Regions from separate parts of the Homo sapiens genome. Here all the other regions are linked to region 1. The links are contacts of gene promoters, found by promoter capture Hi-C in blood cells and fetal thymus (Javierre and others, 2016). All regions are on one chromosome and are shown on one strand. The core of a region is centred on a gene start or on the middle of the fragment in contact, and the rest is flanking DNA. Distances in the headings are between cores, read along the strand shown.

What was found. Contacts are between HindIII fragments. The CHiCAGO score rates a contact against its expected background, and 5 or more counts as called.
Region 2: a contact is called between a fragment that was not itself captured here and the fragment with the promoter of ABRACL in region 1, in 3 of 17 cell types (fetal thymus, naive CD4 T cells and total B cells). The highest score is 7.5, in fetal thymus.
Region 3: a contact is called between a fragment that was not itself captured here and the fragment with the promoter of ABRACL in region 1, in 8 of 17 cell types (fetal thymus, non-activated CD4 T cells, total B cells and 5 more). The highest score is 10.1, in fetal thymus.
Region 4: a fragment that was not itself captured here is called in contact with the fragment with the promoter of ABRACL in region 1 in 10 of 17 cell types (fetal thymus, non-activated CD4 T cells, naive CD8 T cells and 7 more); the score reaches 12.8 in fetal thymus.

The regions. Positions count from the first base shown.
Region 1 is chr6:139,027,325-139,030,024 of GRCh38, reverse strand. It overlaps ABRACL (ABRA C-terminal like), which reads right to left and starts at 1,280. Exons shown (of 3, transcript NM_021243.3): 1 at 1,150-1,280. RefSeq lists silencers at 87-277, 327-696, 957-1,116 and enhancers at 1-316, 139-433. The HindIII fragment of the contact is 5,437 bases long and covers 1-2,700 here.
Region 2 is chr6:139,322,655-139,325,354 of GRCh38, reverse strand. It overlaps a transcript of TXLNB not described here. Among named protein-coding and RNA genes, the nearest start is that of TXLNB, 32 kb to the right of the region's middle. The HindIII fragment of the contact is 251 bases long and covers 1,125-1,375 here.
Region 3 is chr6:139,376,154-139,378,853 of GRCh38, reverse strand. No RefSeq gene overlaps it. Among named protein-coding and RNA genes, the nearest start is that of CITED2, 2.9 kb to the right of the region's middle. RefSeq lists a silencer at 1,808-2,102. The HindIII fragment of the contact is 359 bases long and covers 1,186-1,544 here.
Region 4 is chr6:139,358,793-139,361,492 of GRCh38, reverse strand. No RefSeq gene overlaps it. Among named protein-coding and RNA genes, the nearest start is that of CITED2, 15 kb to the left of the region's middle. The HindIII fragment of the contact is 9,947 bases long and covers 1-2,700 here.

The DNA of each region.
Region 1 (2,700 bases), core at 31-2,530:
AATCGATTTCGGCTTTGTGCGTGGGAAACACAAAGGAAGCGGAAAGTCGGAGGACTGGGCAGAACCCGAAACTCACCACCAATACACACTTTAGAATGTATTTAAGGACCCTCAGGGCATTGTTATTTTTCAAAAGTTTGGAGGCAATGCATGGAGATTTTCTAATATCCAAGGAAATAAAGCCTACTGGAATAGGTATGTCCGGAATCAGGAACCAACTTTACACACTCGGGCTGGGCACGTTTTCCCAGCCCTTCTTCGCAATCGCGGACAAGCAGCTGGTGCGGGTCAAAGGGTGACTGGGCTCCTTACTCCCTCCGGTCTGGGGCGCGCTCACTCCATATTTGGCCATTCTGCTACCAGCTTGGGGTTCTGCCTGGTAGAGGTCCCCTAACCCCGTGCCCTGCAGCCCATCATCACACGGTCACCGCCGGCACCAGTGCAGGGCTGGGGAGCGCGGGGCTGGGCCCCCCGTGGCGGGGCGGCACCGCTGGCGCCCGGGAAGGGCCGCGTCCCGGAAGTCTTTGTCTCCGCAGCTCCCGGCCCGGCGCCGCGGGTCTGCCTCCCCCGTGGCCCGGGCGCCCCGAAGCGCCGCGAGAGCGAGCACCCAACCCGGGCGACGAAAACGGACCCTGCCCCGGGCTCCACGAGCCCCTGGTGTCCCCTCACGACTCTGCACCCCCTGATCTGGAGCGCACAGAGCCGCACCCACCTCCGGCGCTGCAGAGTCCACTGCCCTGAGGCCACCACGTTCCTCGGGGCAGCCTCTCCTCTCGCCCCCAGCCCTTCCCCACCCAGCTCTGCAGAACTGGCTCCTGAACCACCGCCAAGTGCAAAGCCGACACGTCGCACCGCGGTAAAAATCGTTCCATTTCTGCCGGCTTCCCAGTCCGCCCCCGGCCGGCGAAACGTCACGTGAGCCGAGTGCGGAAGTCGACCCGAGAGGTGGGGGCGTGGGCGGCGCGCGCCCCACGGGACCCCAACCCGCGAGGTCTCGGCCCAGCCGGTCGCAGCTTCCGCGCGCCCTGAGCCCCCTCCCGGCCCCCTCCTGACCCGACTCTCACCGCAGCCCGCGGTGCCCGGCGGCGCACCACGGACACCCAGTCCATCCCTGCTACCTAAGCCACATCTGCCCGGGCGCTCACGCACCTCTCTGCGCGGTTTTCCTTCCCGCCGGAGAACTGGCGCCGCGTGGGTCTGGACCCGGTTACCTTCTTCAGTGCACTGGGGAGGGTGAGGCCAAGGAAGGAAGTGGCTGAGGCAAAGAGAAAGACGGCTGTGGAGGAGGAGGAGCAGGGTAGGGGGAAAAGTAAGTGTTTCTGCGCTCAAGAAAGGGGCCGCCCACACTCCCAGGGACAAGCCTATGAGGAGGAAACTCAGGGGAGGAGACGTCCAAGAAAGGGGCTGACTGCAGACAGGTGAAGCGCCCTGGGCTCCTAGGAAAACGGGCCCAGAGCCTGGATTACCTCACTTTTCCACCGTGCTACTCAGAGCCAAGGATCCCAGGATCTGCATCTGATCCTGGGCGTCGATTTCCTGATGGATTTCTCTCCCAACGTAAGAAACAAAGCGCCCTCAAATTGCTGAAGGCTGCTAGAAAGAACGTGGCATTCATGGGTTCCGGATGCCGGGGGCCTCCAGAAAACTACGACTCATGACTTAAAAATGGCTTAATTCGCAAAACAAAATGCAATCTTGAAAGCCAATTTGTCAGACTGCAAAGAAATTTTACTTGGACATAGATAGTTGTTGACCCTGGGTCAGTATCGGTTTCTTCCCTTGTTCATTCATTATTTCATACATTTAACTTCATAATTCAATTTATTCATGCTCCCTTTGTTTTAGTCACTGTTATTTTAATATATGCGTGTGTGAGAGAGAGATGCTTACCGTACCCAGAGAGTCCTTTTGGAAAGGAAACAGTTACCCAAACTATTTCTAGAGCAGGGGTTGCACAAATAACTACAAAAAACGTTCCTTACCCCCTCCCCACCCCCAGCCCAGCTAATTTAAATTAAGAGTGATCGCGTGACCCAAGAGCGCACAATCCGTGATGTAGTCATCATCCTGTGAGGTGACCTGGAGCAAACAGTTCTCATCAAACACGGACTCTGATAGTTAGTAAGCCAATCAGACACTCCCTTGGAAATGGAAAGTGGAGAATGCAGAGACGGAGCTGTCTGATGTAAGAGAAAGGTTGGAGCTAAGAGAGGGTAAGGCAGAAGGGGCCAAAATGGGCTTCGGATGCAAAACATTTGAGTAAGCAGAAACCAGGAGAATGTAGCAGCAGGTTGGGTGGAGGCACAAGTGGTAGAAGCCAGTCAAAGACAAGCTGAGACCAAGTGATGGAAGGAGAGCAACAAAGACCTGCTTCCCAGGGGCATGTGAGTGTTCAGTTCCCTGGGGCTGCACTGGATCCATCCACTTCCCACGCTTCATTCTAGTCTTTACGGTGAATACCTGTCTCCTGGGTGTGACTGAAGGAGTCTCTGTTCTGTAATCTTCAACAAAGGTCTGATTCTTCTAAGTGTCTCATGGCAGATAAAGTTTAAGGTGACTCCAAGATCTTTTCAGACCTATTTTTTTCTTTTACTTGTTTTATATTGTTACCAAAATGATTGAGGCCTATTTTTTTCTCACCAAAAGAAAGGTGAGAAGTTATAGTTTATATCTTTCACAGTCGACATAAGGCAAAAAATA
Region 2 (2,700 bases), core at 1-2,500, 300 kb before region 1:
AAGGAAATATATTTTAGGTTGCTCTATGAAAAACACACATTAGCATTTTTCAGAACATTAGGAACCAAACACAGTATCATAAAAACATAGAAAAAAAGGAACTAATTTTATCTTCTAGTCACAGATGATGTTCAGAATCAAAATGACATGTGACTAATAGTCAGATATCAAATTAGTGGAGCTCTGCTCTTAACCACATATTACTCCATATCTGTTTCTTTATGGCAGCAAAAGACAAGACTCCAGCAGTGGTTCAGCTGTATAATGGGAATATGAATATTCCAGAACTTTCTGTATGCCAGGTGATTGAGAACAACAGTCTCTTAATATTACCTGGCTTTTAAAAGTATTGGCATACATTTGAACTAAAGATTTTTTTAAAAAATAAAATCTGTCCAGGTGCAGTGGCTCACGCCTGTAATCCCAGCACTTTGGGAGGCCGAGGTGGGAGGATCACGAGGTCAGGAGATTGAGACCATCCTAGCTAACATGGTGAAACCCCGTCTCTACTAAAAATACAAAAAATTAGCCAGGCGTGGTGGCACGTGCCTGTAGTCCCAGCTACTTGGGAGGCTGAGGCAGGAGAATGGCATGAACCCAGGAGGCGGAGCTTGCAGTGAGCCAAGGTGGTGCCACTGCACTCGAGCCTGGGTGACAGAGCAAGACTCCGTCCCCCCCAAAAAATAAATAAATAAAAAATGAAATAAAAGGTAATCTCTTAAAAAAAATTATTCTGCATTCAAGTTAAAACCATTGAATGTAGTCCCACGGGCCCTTGTCCTGGGAAAGCCACTGTTCAATCAGCAGCTGTTTATGGGAGATTGAACAGGGAGAAAAAACTAACAAAAATTCCTGCCCCCATGCAACATACAGGAGAGAGGAGAAGACACAGAATAAACAAGGAAATAAAACTTTCCTTTCCAGAAACAATAACAGACCAAAAAAAAAAAAAAAAAAAACGGGGGGATTTTGTAAAATGTCATCCTGAACTAGTCACAGTTAAAAAAAAAAATTAAATGAAAAAAATATATATGTATGTATATATATATACACACACATTGAATACACTCCACAAAAGAGGAGGCTCCTCTCTGTCCCCAGAGCTTGGAAGGAAGCTAGAAGCTTCCGGCAGAAGATTCTGAAAACAAAGCTAAGCTCAAGCATTAATGGGCTGCATGTTTAACATTTGGTGCTAGAATAAGGTAGTCAAAGATGGGAATCATAAAACAATGTCAGTATCCCAGAACACTTTTCCAAGTCAAAGTGGAGTTGAAACAGTTAAACAGACAGTCATCTGAATAAACAGGAACCTGTTTCTATGGCGATGACAATGGGGGAGGGGCGTGACTCCTATCTACCTTCCCTGCGCAAAGCTTCTGGGGGCGTGTTTTGCTTTATGGGACCCTTTCCAAACCCTGACCACAGCAGAAAGGACGGGGATGAGCACTGACTGGAGCAATCTGTTGACTGTCCCCTGTTGTAAACCACAGCTGCCTAATTTTGAGAAACAGGGGCCGAGCCATCAGATGTAGGGGAATGGAAGCTGATGCCAACGGAAGCCCGGAGGTAAACTAGGGCCCCGGAAAAACGAAGAGGAAACAGAAATTATGAGTAAGCAGCGGAAGTTGGTAAGTAAGCCTAGAGAAGACAATGCAGCAGATGTACAGAGAGAAACCACGTGCCTCGTGATTCTTGGTGACTTTCCTGCTTGTCCCCAGCCCAGGTCCACATGTTTCTTTATTATTATATAAGTAAATAAAAAAACTAAACAAGCCTGGGCGCGGTGGCTCACGCCTGTAATCCCAGCACTCTGGGAGGCCGAGGCGGGCGGATCACGAGGTCAGGAGATCGAGACCATCCTGGCTAATACTGTGAAACCCCCGTCTCTACTAAAAATACAAAAAATTAGCTGGGCGTGGTGGCACGCACCTGTAGTCCCAGTTACTCGGGAGGCTGAGGCAGGAGAATTGCTTGAACTCGGGAGGCGGAGATTGCAGTGAGCCTTGATCATGCCATTGCACTCCAGCCTAGGCGACAGAGCGAGACTCCGTTTCAAAAAAAAAAAAAAAAAACTAAACAAATTCTTTTTCTTGGGGTCACTATAATACATCTCTAGAGGTTTCTTGCAAACAAAAGAGCCCAAACCACACACTGAGCCCCATCCCTTCTTCATCTCGTGCAATGTCAACACCAACAAAATGATTTCCTATGTATTTAAGGAAGGATAATCATAGTCACTGGTCCAAAATGAAACTTCTTACTGAAATGACAATTGAAATTATTCCTAGTCAGTTCACAGAAATGCTAGTTTCTTATTTTAAAATGAGGACAGATCCAAAAGAGATAAAGGGATTTAGGGAAATGGACATTTAGAAAATTGATAGCCCCATGGGCCTCTGTCCTGGGGAAGCCACTATTCAATTAGCATCTGTTTATGGGGGATTCAACAGCAGGGAAAACCCAGCGAAAATGCCTGCCCCCATGCAACATACAGGCAAGAGGAGGAGACAAAGAATAAACACAGCAAATAAGTAAAATGTACAGAAAATGTGCAGTGTGTTTTTTCTACAGAAAAAGAAGGAACAAGGGGGATATAAAGCTGGGCTGGGGAGGCATCGATATTTTAGGGGAGTGGCCGGGAAGGCAGTTGTTACTAAGATAATTTGGATGAGAGGTGGTTGAACTCTGCACCGTATTGAG
Region 3 (2,700 bases), core at 116-2,615, 350 kb before region 1:
CTTTTTTTTGGTAGAAGGGATGAAGGTCTCACTCTATTGCCAAGGCTGGAGTGGAGTAGTGTGATCACAGCTCACTGCAATCTCGAACTCCTGGGCTCAAGCAATCCCCCCGCTTCGGCCTCCCCAGTATCTAGGACTACAGGTATGCACCTCCACACCCAGCTCATTTTCTAATTTTATTTTGTTGAGACAGGATCTCAAGATGTTGCCCAGGTTGGTCTCGAATTCCTGGGCTCAAGTGATCCTCCCACTTCAACCTCCCAAAGTTCTGGGACTACAGGTGTGAGCCACTGCACCTGGCCTACCTCCAGCCTTGAGAGTGACCTTCTCCAGAAAGTCTTCCTTGGCCCCTCATTGGGGTTCCCATAGTGCCAATGCCATATTTTATTCATGCATTCACCCTTCAATTAGTAAAAGTCTAATACCTGCCAGGACTTGTTTCAGACAGTGAATGAACAACCAGGCTAGGTCTCTGCTCTCATGGAGCTGTCATTCTAATGGGGAAGGCAGTAAACTGTCAATTTACCATGCAGCATGTCAGGTAGGAAGATACTCTAAGATGAAACATAAAGCAGGGCAAGGAAACAAGAGAGATATTGCTATTTGGGTAGGACAGTCAGGGAGAGTTTGTTGAGGTGATATTTGAGCAGAGACATGAAGAAATGAGAATATGGGCCAGTAGGACGTCTGGGAAGACAGTTCCAGGTGGCAACTTTCTTTGTCAGCAGCAGGGGTCTTGTATTACTCAGTTTATTTACCACTGTTATTAGTCAAATTGTGTCCCCGCAAAAATATCTTGGAGATATGTTGGAGTTCTAACCTCCAGAATATGACCTTCTTTGGAGTCAGGAGCTTATAGAGGTGATCAAGTTAACATGAGGCCAGTAGGAGAAGCCCTAATCCAAAAGGACTAGAGTCCTTGTCAAAAGGGGAACTTTGGACACAGAGATACACATACAGGGGGGCGGGGGGTGGAAAACGTCACATGAAGATGAAGGTGGGGATCAGTGTGATGCATCTACAAGTCAAGGGACACCAAAGATTGCCGGGAAACCACCAAAAGCCAGGAAAGAGACACGGAATAGATTCTCTCTCACGGTCTTCAGAACCAACCCTGCCAACAACTTGGCCTTGTACCTCTAGCCTCCAGAACTGTGAGACAATAATGTTTTGTTGTTTAAAGCTTGATCAGCCTTAAGTTTGTATTAGACTGGTGCAAAAGTAATTACAGTTTTCGCCATTGCTTTCAATGGCAAAAATCACAATTACTTTTGCACCAACCTAAATAGTACTGTGTTATGGCAGCTCTGGGAAATGAATACAACCATTCAGTGCTGTGAGGGCCACAGACAGATCACTTGCTCGCTCACCCAGGTTCACGGGATAAACCCTGGTTATACGGAACTTCTGGGAGCCCTGGGTTACTGTAAGTGCCCCCTAACTGGACTCCCTGTTTCCTGTCTTACTTTCTCTAACCATTCTCCACAGTACTGCCCTGATCTTTCTAAAATCCAAATCTTTCCTATCTCATGGCTTCACAAGCTTTTACCTGCCTCCCAATGTCTTTGGGATACAGCAAAATTTCTCAGCTTGAGGCCACAATGCCCTTGGCATCCGGCCCCAGCATATTTCTCCAACCTTATTTCTCTCATCTTTGCATTCACTCCCTAGCCATACATTTTCTACCCCACTCCTAATGGGACCAAACTTCCATTCATCCTGAGGCCTCCACTTAGTCACCATCTCCACCGGAAAGCCTTCCCAAAGCACCCAGGAGGGGGGTAGGTGTCCCTCCTATGTGCTCTCCAAAGCCCTTTCCTTCAATGCCTTTGTGGCATTTATCACAGTGTGTTCAAGGCCTGTTTGTCAGTTTTCTCCCTGTGACCATGAGTTCCTATCTTGTTTGTATCTCCAGGCACCAAGAAAGCACTTGGCACTTGGAGGACATTCAGTGGACGGATGAGAATAAATGAACAAAGCATGCCATGTTCCAACCAGCTGGTCCCAGAACTATTTTGTTCTCCTTTAAGGGATGGGGGATGGGCAGGTGACCTTTCCAGGGATTTCCCAATAGTAGGTAGAACCACTGGAGCTGGATGGAGCTCCACCTTTCCTTAGTGGTTGCAAGAGGAATTTAGATTAGACATTCAAAAGCTGTTTCTTGTGTCGAAAGACACTTGCAGTACAAAGAAGGGAAAGTAAACAATCCCGCGATTTTTCAGGTTGGGTTTTACCAATATTTTAGAATCTGTTTTTTTATAGGAAGTGGCCCCTTCAGGTATCCAAGCCTCTGATACGGTAAACTGCATGTCCTGACCTACAGGTAAAGGTGGTGGGAGGTTAGGAGAATAGGGAATTGTTGCAACTAACAATGCAATGTGTCATGTGCCCGTATCTCTAAAAAGTAAATATTTTTGAGGTTTAAAAATTATTTGCCTGCACGGTTTGCCGGAGAGCCTGGAAGAGGAAAGAAGACAAGACACAAAGTAACAACATTTACAAAAATATGCCTGACTAGGAAAAGACAGAGGGGTCATAGACGAAAATAATCAGGATTGGGTCTCTTTTGCAAATTCCTGAACGGGGAAATGTATCAGAATTTCCAGTCCTCAAGAAACAGGGCCTTTAAAAGTCTTGTGTGCAAGAAGGGGGAAAAAGACGAGGGGGGGGCGGGGAGGCGGACTCGCTCTTCGCAGCAGG
Region 4 (2,700 bases), core at 3-2,502, 330 kb before region 1:
AGAAACTGGTTTGCAGAAGTCAGCGGGAGAGTGGAACACATTGCCTGAACAAAGCAATAGTAAGAGACCATCTGGTGCTAAATCAAGATAGATGGAGAGGGAAGACACATCTGTCCCGGGCAACTTCCTGGTTTCCTGATTAGCACCCACCATACCCACAGTTCCTGTAAGATGTGTCTATGCCTTTTGTAATTTGTCTAACTTGAGGGATTTTGAGAATATCTATTTTATTACTCTGTGCTTTTGCACATGCTGCTCCCTCTGCCCAAAAGGCACTTCCTCATCTTCATTCCTTTGCTGAAATGTCCTTCAATACCCACCTTAAGTATCTTCTTCTCTGAGAAACTTCCTCATATACCTCCCTACTTTGCAGCACCCCTATACCTTATAAATACCTCTGTTTGTATGGATTACGTACACAGTATTACAATTATTTGATAATAAGTTTCTCTCTTCTACTTTGCAATCATATCTATTAAGAAATTTTTAGCTGCAAATAATAGAAATCCTGATTCTGGCTTAAACCATGAGAAATACATTTATTATCTGTCAAAAGTCAAGAAGGCAAGGGCAGGCTTCAGGGTTGATTAATTCACTGATCAATAATGTCCACAAAGACTCAGGCTTCTCTCATCTCTCTCCTGGGCTGTCGTCAGTGTTGGCCGCACCGTGGACCGGTGACAGGTGGCATGAGCAGAGCTCACGTGACAAGTAGGGAAAAGAAAACTTTCTCCAGAACCATCCTTTTCTTCATGTATCATGTCATGGACCAATTTCTGAACCAACCAACCACTGGGATTGGTTTTACCATGGGGTGGAATTATCACAATTGACTTAATCACCTCGGTGTGAAATGGATATTAAACTGACAACTCCATCACCAGAAGAGTTAACAGCGAAGCAGACCTTTTCTAAAATTTCTGTTTCAAGGCATAGATTTTAAGCTGTAATTGACAGGGACTCTTTTTAAAGTTTTTTTTTTTTCCAAATCTTCTTCATATAATAAAGACATATATAGCTAACAAAATTATATCATAAATCACTCAGAGAGGGTTTACTTGATTAAGGTTGAAATGTCTTCTATAAAGCAACATTTGTTAATATAAATAAATATTCTATTAAAAAGAAGTATATGGTCATTATGTCTTCATTTCTAGCCCTTCAAAATATGTTTGATATTCCCTTGTTAATATGACTAATAAGTAATTTTTCTGCACCAAGAAAATCATGTACATTTTGGCAGGTGATTAATCTCTGTGCAAAATGAACAGAATCTAATATTTATGAACAAATTACTGATAGCTATATAATCTATTTCCATAATAAATGCACTGGTCCGTATGACAAAGCCAAAAAGAATATAAAAACAGCCTGACAAGATTCAAACACGGAAGATAAGAAAACTCTAATATATGGCCGTGAACATCTTCTGTTCTGTCTACTCATTGCTTGTCCTACCCTTCCACAAAATGCCACTTTTTCACTTTAGTTACATACGTCCATGTGAAAATTCCCATAATCCTATGTGCCCTGGGCACAGTGAATGGCTAGGGGTGCCCAGATGGGCCCAGTTGAAACATTCATCACACTTTCATCTTACCCTCTGGCTGCAGCTAATTGGTCTGTGGATAACACTGACCCAACAGAAACCTTCCCACAGGAGTTAGCTTTCTTCCTTTCTTCTTCATTTTAGTAATTTTGGGGGCACAAATAGTTTTTTGTTGCACAGATGAATTATGTAGCAGTGAATTGAGATTTTAGTGCTCCCATCACCCATGTAGTGTACGTTGTACCTAATGTGTAGTTTTTTATCCCTAACCCCCCTTCCACCTTTCCTGTTCTGAGTACCTATAGTCCAATATATCACTCTGTATGCCTTTGCGTACTCACAGCTCAGCTTCCACTTATCAATGAGAACACATGGTTTTTGGTTTTCCACTCCCAAGTTACTTCACTTAGAATAATGGCCTCCAGCTTCATCCAAGTTGCTGCAAAGACATTATTTCATTCCTTTTAATGGCTGAGTAGTATTCCATGGTGTATATATACCACATTTGCTTTATCCACTCATTAGTCAAAGGGCACTTAGGCTAGTTCCACATCTTTGCAATTGTGAATTGGGCTGCTATAAACATGCACGTGCAAAGATTATTTTCATGTAATGACTTTTTTTCCTCTGGGTAGATACTCAGTAGTAGGGTTGCTGGATCAAATGGTAGATCTACTTTTAGTTCTTTAAGGAATCTCCATACTGTTTTCCATAGAGGTTGTACTAATTTACATTCCCATCAGCACTGCATAAAAGTTCCTTTTTCCCCATATCCATAGCAATATCTGTTGCTTTTGACTTTTTAATAATGGCCATTCTTGAAGGAGTAAGGTGGTATTGCACTGTGGTTTTAATTTGCATTCCTCCCCCTCCCCCAGGAGCTTTTAACTTGACAACAGAGAGATCAAGTTTTAAGTCCTCTTTAGTGATGAAACTATGAGCCTGTAAACTGCTGTTAGCCATACTTCCAGCCGTGTGAAAGAAGTGAGTGTGGGAGAATACACACTCTGTTCATCTGTATTCACACTGCTAAGAAGATATACCCAAGACTGGGTAATTTATACAGGAAAGAGATTTAATTGACTCATAGTTCAGCATGGCTGTGGAGGCCTCAGGAAACTTACAATCATGGCAGAAGAGGAAGCAAACAC